2 separate regions of the Homo sapiens genome follow, and region 1 is linked to region 2. Evidence: promoter capture Hi-C in 16 types of primary human blood cells and fetal thymus (Javierre and others, 2016). All regions are on one chromosome and are shown on one strand. Each heading gives the region's core, a stretch centred on a gene start or on the middle of the fragment in contact. The rest is flanking DNA. Distances are from core to core; before and after follow the strand shown.

What was found. The method cuts DNA at HindIII sites, captures the fragments that hold promoters and counts their contacts. A CHiCAGO score of 5 or more calls a contact.
Region 1: a contact is called between a fragment that was not itself captured here and the fragment with the promoter of MX2 in region 2, in 1 of 17 cell types (neutrophils). The highest score is 5.0, in neutrophils.

Annotation. Positions count from the first base shown.
Region 1 is chr21:42,004,109-42,009,012 of GRCh38, reverse strand. All of the region lies in intron 1 of ZBTB21 (zinc finger and BTB domain containing 21), which reads left to right. Among named protein-coding and RNA genes, the nearest start is that of ZNF295-AS1, 2.6 kb to the left of the region's middle. The HindIII fragment of the contact is 1,880 bases long and covers 1,445-3,324 here.
Region 2 is chr21:41,357,843-41,363,380 of GRCh38, reverse strand. MX2 (MX dynamin like GTPase 2) reads right to left here and starts at 1,354. Exons shown (of 14, transcript NM_002463.2): 1 at 1,326-1,354. RefSeq lists enhancers at 810-1,649, 1,670-1,929, 3,212-4,015, 4,837-5,136. The HindIII fragment of the contact is 29,601 bases long and covers 1-5,538 here.

The sequences.
Region 1 (4,904 bases), core at 1,135-3,634, 640 kb before region 2:
CCTCATACCTTGTTTAAGAAGACAAGAAAGTGGGTTAATCCATTTTAGAAAGATTTCTCATGGAAAATTATCTTTTAAAGCTTTCCTCGTGTACTTGGAGTAAATGATGATCTCTAAGGACTAGTAGTCATTAAGTTTAAATTTAAGCACCCCTAAATATTGATGTTAAAAAGAAAGTCAAAATTTGAAGTGCTGGTTTACTTAAAAGTAACTTTTTGTTTATTTTTCCTTTTTAACACTTTATTGAAAGTATAATGTGCTTCATTCTGTTGAAATAGAAGTTGAAGAAGATATAACCCCTGCCCTCGAGGAACTTACACTGTTGAATATTAGATGTGTACACTCTGAAGGAAAAATTGTAAATAACAAAATTGGGGTTAAGTTAAGAAGGTCTCTCGATGGAAATGAGATAATTAAAGGGACAATTTTTTCTTTTCTTTTCTTTTTTTCTTTTTTTTTTTTTTTTTTTTTTGACAGAGTTTCACTCTTGTTGCCCCAGGCTGGAGTACAATGGCGTGATCTTGGCTCACTGCAACCTCCGCCTCCCTGGTTTTGCAACCTCCGCCTCCCTGGTTCAAGCGATTCTCCTGCCTCAGCCTCCTGAGTAGCCGGGATTACAGGCTTCCGCCACATCGCCCAGCTAATTTTTTTTTTTTTTTTTTTTTTTTTTGTAGAGACGGGGTTTCATCCTGTTGACCAGGATGGCCTTGAGATCTCCTGACCTCGTGATCCACCCCACTTGGTCTCCCAAAGTGCTGGGATTACAGGCATGAGCCACTGCGCCCAGCCGAAGGGACAGTTTTAGTTGTCCGCAAAGCCAATGGAAGTAGAGAGAGCAGATTATAAGCTATGTAAGAGCTAGGTTTGACCAGGTCACAGTGATAGGCTATAAGGGAAAGAGAAGAAATTTTAGGGTCTGGCAACACACCAAAGTAAATCGGGAATATGTGAGGACAAACAGATGTGGGAGCAGGGACGAGAGTTGTGGAGTTTAAGTACCATGCTGGACCTGAGGATATACTGTGATGGAACCGTTCAGTAGGTACCTGAGAGGCTGGAGCCTCAAGAGTCTAAACAGAGATACAGATTTGGGAATCATCGTCCAGTAGTGATTAAAGTCACAAGGTCTAATAGAAAAAGCAAAGAATACTGCCACGTTTTGGGGCTCTGTAACGGATGCTGGAGAAATAAAGGTGAGCCAGTCCAGGTCTTGAGCCTCAAGTTTGATGATTTCTCTCTTTGCCCTGTACCTAGCTTGCCAGGCCTTGTGCTGGGCATCAGGGATACGTGCATGCAAACAAGGGTTCTTTCTTTAGGGAGTCCCTTGGGGGAGACACATGTAAAAGAAGATTAATTGAAGAAGTTGTGGTGTTATTACAGAGAGATGAAGTATTGTGGTAGTTTAGATGACTGAGCTGCTGGCTAGGGGCAAATTACAAAAGCTTTGTAGAGTCGGTGACATTTCAACTGGATCTTTCGAAAGAAGTTAGCCAAGTAAAGGAGAGGGAAGAGAGAGATTTTGGGTGGCAGAGGCTGGATATGCAAGTTTGTAGAGTAGATGGTAAGTAGTGTCCAATAAGGGTGGAGAGATGAATTGTAACCAGAGTATGAAAAGTCTTGTATGCCAGTCTGTAGTTTGGATTTTCTTTAGGAATAGAAAAATCAGTACAGTACTCCAAAGCAGGGCAGTGATGTAATACGCTTTACTTCAGCAAAACAACTAACAGCCATAATTTTCACTCGTGCATTTAATTGGAGTGAAGAGTACAGAAAAGTCAAATCTTTATTGTTGTGGAAGATAACATGTTGAGCATTGATAATGCCAAAAGATATTAAATAGATTATCAGTCTTTAAATAGCTTTCAGTCCTCTTGGGGAGACACAAATGACTAACAATAAAGGCAGTGAATAAACATGTAAATGGTGCTGAAGTTGAGGTATTTGCACGTTATAAGATGAAGTAGTCAAGGAAGGTATATTCATTTGCTTGGGCTGCTATAACAAAGTACTGCAGACTGGATGACTCAACAGATTTCTTTTCCCACAGTTCTGAAAGCTAGAAGTCCAAGAACAAGGTGTCAGCAGGGTTGGCTTCTTCTGAGGCTTCTCTTTGGCTTATAGATGGCATCTTCTTGTCCCTACTTGGTCCTTCCTCTGTTCATGTCTCTGTGCTAATCTTCCTCTCCTGTAAGAACACCAGTTACATCAGTTTAGGGGTCACCCTAAAGCCCTCATTTTAACTTAATTACCTCTTAGAGACCATGTCTCCAAGTATGACTACATTCTCCAGGTACTGGAGGCTAAGTCTTTATCATATAAATTTGGGAGGGAAGAGTGGGGACACAATTCAACCCATAATGGAAGATTTTATGGAGTAGCTGGAACTTGACCTGAGCTTTGAAAGGTGATTAATATTCTGAGTAGTGTGCTGAGGAGGGGTTTAGGTGAGTTCTAGGACTTTCCAGATTGGGGAGTGGGAGAAGTCAGATGTGCAGGTTAGGTCTTAGAGACAGAGTATCTGGAGCAGAAAGGGATCACTAGGGAATAACTAAGGGAAAGAAAAAAAAATTTTTTTTTTTTTTTTGAGACGGAGTTTCGCTCTGGCTCAGCTGTCACCCAGTGGTGACTGGAGTGTAGTGGCACGATCTCAGCTCACTGCATCCTTCACCTCCCAGGTTCAAGCGATTCTCCTGCCTCAGCCTCTCGAGTAGCTGGGATTACAGGCGCCCGTCACCACACCCGGCTAATTTTCGTATTTTTAGTAGAGACAGGGTATTACCATGTTGGCCAGGCTGGTCTCGAACTCCTGACCTCAGGTGATCCACCCGCCTTGGCTTCCCAAAGTGCTGGGATTACAGGCATGAGCCACCACACCTGGCTAAGAAAATTTTAAAAGTCATTTGAAACCAGATTTTATAGAGACCTTTAGTCATTGTTTTAAAAATTTTAGCCTAATGGAGAACAATTGTTTTTATTATTTTATTTTTAAACAGGATCAAAGCTGGTTCTCTTCATTCAGATCTTAGGTCTCAGCTGAAATATTCCATCAAGGTATTTTCTGACCATCCTCTCTAGGCACTGCATCCAGCGATATAGCACCTTATTTATTTCCACCATAACTTTTAGCAGAATCTGAGGTTGTCTTTTTTATTTGTTTCCTTAGCATCTGATTTATCTCACTAGAAAGTGGGGGTCTTGTCTGTTTGGTGCACCCCTATATTTCAGATAAATCTAACCATGCCTTGTACAGAATTGGAATTCAGTAAATAAGTTGAATTAATAATAGGAATATTTAACGTGTATGTTGGGTGAGCGATCAAAGCTTTGTTCTAAGAAGCTCAGTCTAGAAGCTGTATTAGGATGGGTTTGGAAGGCATGACAAGGAACAGTGAATACCACGTGGAAATATATTAGGGTTCTTTAATAACAAGAACAGAAACTGTCTGGCTTGAATGGAAAAAGTAGTTTATTGTAAAGATACAGGGTTGCTCTTGGACTTAAAAGAAAAGCTAAAAAACTGGGCCAGGAAGAAGGACAAAAACCAAGCTAACTCCAGGAATCTATGTAGCAGGCACTAGCAAGGTTGCATTTTCAGGCCTCCGTTGAGATAAGTCAGCTTCATTTATTTATTGCCTTTGTCATTCTTCTCAGGATTCATATTCCGAGGACAAAGTTTCTGATTGGTTTGGCTTTGGTTGTATGGTTAGCCCAGAGGTAGGGGAGAGGAGCACATCAGGCTGTAGCACACAGTGGGACAAGAGCAGTTCTTCTATAGCAAAATCATGGGGCTGTTAACAGGAGGTGGAATGGCTGTGTAGTGGCTGGAAGAAAACAGCAAAGGCTGTGACCAGAGTCTGCTCTGCTAAGGTGCAAAGGAGCTTGAACTATGTTGGAGTAGGATCATTCTCCTGAATGTGGCCAAGAACAACCATCAAACCAAAATCAAACCCCCTTGTTAGAGACTGAAAGTGTGGTGAAATGGAATACAAGATAGTAACATGACTCCTCTTGAAGGATTGGATAAGCTAGTCTAGGTTTGAAATCTGAGGATATTTGCGTTGTCACCAAGTGAGTGATGATAAGACCGAAACTCAGAGGCAACTTCCTATCACCATCAAATAGTAAAATCCAATGGTAGGTGTTACGGCTAAATCCTGAAATGAGGGTTTGGGGATAAGCAGTCTGTGTGTGTGTGTTTATGTTCCAAAGTCAAATGTAGATGCTTTGTTTTTTTAACTAGGTATTTGCCTTGTGTTACATGCATTCCCTCTTTTTTCTAGTATCATGGTTAGGACTATAGAAGCAATCCCCAACATTCCAAAGGACCCATGTTCCCAGAGTTGAAATCTAGGTTGATGCTGGATGTAAAGAGCCATTTTCCTGTAGAACTGGTAGTAGCAGTTTTGTGGCTAGTCTGGGAGCCAACTTAATTTATAGTGTACCTTAGCTATGACACTAGTCCAAGTAGGTGAGATTATTTTGATCCCTTTCCATCTCTGTTTCTCACCCCCTCACTCACCCCCTGGTACCCTTCTGAGTGCCAAGTCGCTTTGCTTTCCTCTGCTTCTCACTAGAATGCTCTATATTCGAAATTGCCTACCTTCCCTCTCCCTCAAAAATCTTAATTCCATACAACTGATTTAACACTCTATAAAGAGGAAAGTATTTGCATTGAATTAATTTATGTTAAGATATGAGGCCGGGCGCGGTGGCTCATATCTTACAGGTGGCTGGCCTGTAATCCCAGCACTTTGGGAGACCGAGGTGGGCAGATCGCCTGAGGTCAGGAGTTCGAGACCGGCCTGACCAATATGGTGAAACCCCATTTCTACTAAAAATACAAAAATTAGCCAGTCCTGGTGGCTGGCGCCTGTAGTCCCAGCTACTCAGGAGGCTGAGACAGG
Region 2 (5,538 bases), core at 105-2,604:
CAATGCATTGGGAGGCCGAGGCAGGAGGATCACTTGAGCCCGGAAGTTTAAGGCTGCAGTGAGCTATGATGGTACCATTGCACTCCAGCCTGGGAAACAGAGCAGGAAGACCCTGTCTCAAAAAAGAAAAAGAAAAAAAAATTGTACATCCGAAGGGAGTCAAAAGTGCTTCAGGGGTTGGCGCGGGGCTGGGAAGTAGAGCAGAGTAAACGGAGGAGAGGGTGCGAGGAAAGATAGCTTGGAATCCTGATCTTTTTAAACAGCTAGAGACAACATTCTAAACACAAAATGAGAAAGAACAGTGTTCAAAAGGTGTCATCAAAGCCGAATGGGGTGGCTTACGCCTGTAATCCCAGTGCTTTGGGAGGTTGAGGCGTAAGGACTTCTTGAGCCAGTGAGTTTGAGACCAGCCTGGGCAACATAGAGAGCCCCTGTCTCTACAAAAAGAAATAAAATTAACCAGGTGTGGTGGTGCACACCTGTAGTCCCAGCTACTTGGGAGGCTGAGGTGGGAGGATCCCTTGAGCCCGGGAGCTTGAGACTGCAGTGAGCCATGATCACGCCACTGCACTCCAGCCTGGGGAACAGAACGAGAACTTCTCTCAAAAAAAAAAAAAAAAAAAAAAAAAAGAAAAAAAAACTGCGTCATCAATACCACCATGTCTCCTTTCCGCTCTATATCAATTATAAAATGGACTTCAGCCCCCAGAGTGCAGGCGATCCAGGGTGCAGTGGTCCAGAGTGCTGGAGTTGGCCCCTACTGGCTGGGAACTGGCCACGGTGGGAGCATTCACACCATGAGAACGGAAGAGAATCGGCAAAGGCTAGAAATCAGGCACCACCCTCTGCCCTGCCCCGCCCCATGAGAGCCAATTTCCCAGCATATCACCGTCACTAAGGTTACGTCAGAGCATCACAAATACCACAAAAGAAGGAACACTTGAAACCCTCCGAGACGACTTTTCGGGCACAAAGCTCCTTACTCAACCCCCAGACTTTGTAGGACGCTGAGCAAAGCTGTCCTAAAAACCACCCCTTTGCGTCCACCCGACTTTTGGCCAGATCAGGATGGAGGCCACCCTGTCCCCAGGGCCAGCCACTTCCCCTCCAGAGCCTCTTTGTCTGTGCACAAGGCTACTGTGGGCTGGTGGCAACATGGGCCCTTTCTGCTCCTCACACCAGAATCTTATCTTTGTGGCTCCTGCCTCCCAGCACAAGCCACATTCACCAAGCAGATGTCACGTTACTCAGGAAATATTTTTTAAACACGCATCTGCTGTGCATCAGACACAAAGCAGCCCTCCCTGCACCGGCCCCGCTCTTACCGCTGCACGTTCAGGATGGAGAAATCATCTCTTCCCTTTCCTCCACTTCACTTTTATGTGGCATATGAACCACTCCCTCCCCTGCTCCGTCATCAACAAACAGGGAGAGAAATGAAACTACTTGATCTGGCCACAGAAATGAAACTGAGTTATCAGCGTGCTCTCCAGATGACTCACAGAGTGGTCCCCAAACTCCAGCTGCATCCGAATCCTGGGAGAGCTGTGGAGACGGGGCGGCTGTCCCCCCACCCCCGCCAGAGAGTCTGATCTGTCAGGTCTGGGCTGGGCCTGAGAATCAGCATTGCTAACAGATTCCAGGGGAGGCTGGCATGGGGGCAGCTCAGAGTGGCTCAGTCACTGGAAGGTTCTGCCCTGACAGTGCCATCCAGTACCACCTGTGTGGCTCTGAAATGTGACTACTGCGACCAAGGAACTGGACTTCGAACTCCATGTAATTTGAATGAATAGCCACGTGTGGTTCGTGTATCGGGCCTCACAGATGCACTCCTGTTACAGCCGAGGACATGCTCTCAGGTACATGATCTGGACGCTCTGAGCTGTCCTGCTTAGCTTCATGCCTGAGCCGCACCTGACAAATGTCACCTCTCCCCTCATTAGGTGCGGAAAACCCAAAGAAGGAGGGTCAACAGCTTTCTCCAAGCACCCGTGCCTGAGGTCCCCGCCGCAAAACCAAGACGGTTTTCTTCCCATTGGAGATAAGGAGGCCCCAGGACAAACCCCAGGCTCCGGAACTCAGCCCTGAGCCAGCTGCATGTCATCTTTCTGGTCCTCAGTTACTTTTCACCTGCAAAAGTGAAGGTGCACAACCGCATGCTCCCTAAGGCTTCCTGCTCTGTGACCAAAGTCAAGGAGGGCCAGGCATTCCCATCACCAGAGCCAAGAGGTCTGGGAACCTCCAGGAGGAGCCCTCCAGACACCGGGGAGGGGACCAAGCCTCTCAAGGACTGGCAGTGATGGCTGGGAGGGAGGAAGCAGGCTCTCAGCTCTCCTATCCACCCGTGATCCTCTCCCAGACATCAACACTATACGTTTAAAAAAACTCCTGAGCTCCTCTTGGCTAAGTCATTGTAGTGACTTCCCTTGAGTGCAGGCTTAACTTTACGGAAGATATTTAGAAACTTAACATGTTTTTCAAAACCTTGGCATTAGAAATATTAACACCAGGAGATCATCGTCAGGATCACCTATCCCTGAACCACTTCTCTTCCCAAGAGCCCGGGCGGACAGAGGCTGAGGAGTGAGGGGAGGAATGTGAATCTCAGACTTGGCAGCGTGATGTGACATTCGGTTTCACTAGGAATGTCTTTCACAACAGGGCCTGGGCCGGCCTACTGCTTCAAGGAAGGCACAAAGAAAGGCCTCAGAGAAGCCGGACAGAGGGACACGAGCAGCTCGGGCCAGCTCAGGGGACCCTCCACCCTCTGTCAAGGCAGCATCCCCCTCCTGCACGCCCCTCACCAGCAGCCCTGGGAAGGACCAGAGGTGCCTGCGCATGCAAACTTCAAGGACAGGGTTCTTGCGTTCTGAGCACTAAAGCCCTGAGGGTGAATGAATGTCCCACGCAGCATCCAAGCACAGGGGCCGGGGCCAGAAAAGATGCTGCTGCTCAGGCCTCGGTCACAGCCGCTGGGCGGAGCTCTTCCCTCAGCTCCACATCAGGGAGCGTTACAGTGTGCAGCTTGGTAAAGAGGCGAAGTCCAGAAGCCCCAGTGCCCGCCTCCTGCCCTGGCACGCTGACTCTATGGAAAGCGCCAGCGCCTCTGTGTGCTGATGAAGTTCCTGGCCACCTGGAAGCACCTGCAGCACCTGGAGCCATCCAGAGCCAGCATGCATCCACTCTCCCATGGCCTCTCCAATCACAGAAGGAAAGATCAAGCAAATGCTTTCCTGAATTAACAGGACAAAGGCAATGGTGAAGTGCTGTAGACAAGCAGGGTTCTTACCTGGGGTGTGTCCCTCCCAGCAGAGCACAGGAGCAGCGGGTGCACCTTGGAGTGGAACTCCACCCTGTCATTGTCCGTGTGACCTGGCTCTTTGTTTCTTTTTTGTTTGCTTGAGATGGAGTCTCGCTCTGTTGCCCAGGCTGGAGTACAGTGGTGAGATTTCTGCTTACTGCAACCTCGGCCTCCCAGGTTCAAGCAATCCTCCCACCTTAGCCTCCCAAGTAGCTGGGATTATAGGCATGTGCCACCATGCCCAGCTAATTTGTTTTGTATTTTTAGTAGGGATGGGGTTTTACCATGTTGGCCAGGATGGTCATGAACTCCTGACCTCAAGTGATCTGCCCACCTTGGCTTCCCAAAGTGCTGGGAATTTGGTTGTGAGCCACTGCACCCAGACTGGCTGTTTGGTCCTTAGCCTCTCTGTGCCTCACCAGCCCCACTAGGTTAAATCATCATGACCCTGTCACGGGGCGGGTGTGAGGGGTAACCAGCAGGGTCCACAATGCGTAGGAAATGTGACTCTGATGTGGCAAGCCCCCTTGCGTGGTGCCCACCGGTGGGGGACTGGGCTGGGGGCTGGCAGTGCCCAGTGCCTTCAGAGATGGAATGACAATCTCCACACTAAAGACCACATTGTAGGGAAACATCAACAGGAAGTGGAAATGAATGGCAATTCACAGTCCTGTGCCCCGGGTGCGGACGCAGCAGTGAGCTGCAGGGGCAGCAGAGGGCCAAGGGGCCATCACTGGGTAGGAGGGGCCGTCATCACAAGAACTTCACAGCCCAAAGCCGGATCCCCGGGCGATGCCTGGCCAGAAGCTCCCCTGCGGCCTATTCCATGACAGTGAACTAAGATCAACGAAGCTACAAAAACATAGCAATTTCAGCCAGAATAAAAATGTACTGCCCTCCTTTTTTGATACACAGAAACGTCTATGCCTACCTAAGAACTTAGCACTTACAAGGGCCTATATTAGTTTTGTGGGGTTGCCATCACAAAGAACCACACCTGAGTAGCTTAAACAGCAGAGGTCTCTGGTCTCACAGCTCTGGAGGCCAGAAGTACCACATCGAGGTGTCAGGAGGGCTGTGCTCCCTCGGAAGTCTCTAGGGCAGACCCTGTTCCAGGCCTCTGTCCAGCTTCCCGTGGTTTGCTGGTGATTTGGGGTGTTGCTTGGCACACAGATGCATCATCCCAGTCTCTGGGTGGGTGTTTCCAAATTTCTCCTTTTTATAGGGACACCAGTCCTGATGGGTGGGGGCCCACACTACTCTAGGACCTCTTGATCCTTACTGACCGCATCTGCAGTTAACCTGTTTTCAAATAAGGTTGCATTCTGGGGGTTAGGACTTCAGCAGATGAATTTTGGGGGATACAGTTCAGCCCCTACTGGGATCTGAGCCATGACCCCATCCAGTGGTTTGCAGCCTTCCTTGCAGACAACCAGGCTCCCTGAGGGGCCTCTGCCCAGGGCAGGGCTTGCAGGCTGGGTGATGCTCCTCCCTGGGCCAGAGCACTGCTTGGCTCTCAGCAGTCATCAGGTCATTGTATCTCCACTCACAGTGGCCACCCCCTTCTTTGGACAAGGGCTGTCACGCAGCCCACAGCCATGCAGTCCATGGTTTGCTGGGGCCCCTGAGGAAGGGGTTGACATACTCTGGCCTCGCTGACCTGGTGCCTCCCATGTTTGGAGCCATGGGATGTGAGCAGCTGGGGCTGACACATCAGGCCAGGAGCTTGGTGGGGCTTGGAGGCTGGATTTCTGTTCCCTCTCTGGCTTTCATGCCTGACAGGGGACACCCCTTCAGCCTGGCTTTTCACACCTAGGGCTCAGCCGTGGCTGGCCTGTGGCCACATTAACACAAACAAGAAATCAATGCTGTCGTAAGCCACTGAGAATTGGGGCAGTGTGTTACTGTGAGAATGCTGGAATTCGGGGTGCCATGTAGCACCATGTTTTAAAAGGAGTCCTGCCAACAAAAATGCTTGGCAACCATTCATCTATCCCAACTCTTTTATCTTACAGATGAGATATAGAGGCTCAGAGAAGGAATATTAACCCAGCACCAAAGTCTCCTAGCTCTTCTGGGGCCAGGCCCGGGAAAGAGGTGAGAATGGACAGTTGGCAGTGACTGCTGGCCCCAGTGACTCTTATTTTCTTAGCCCCGAATCACATGTGTCATCTGACCCACCGTTCCAGCACGTGTGGAACATCCTGGACTCTTGGATCTACTGCTGCATCTTCTAG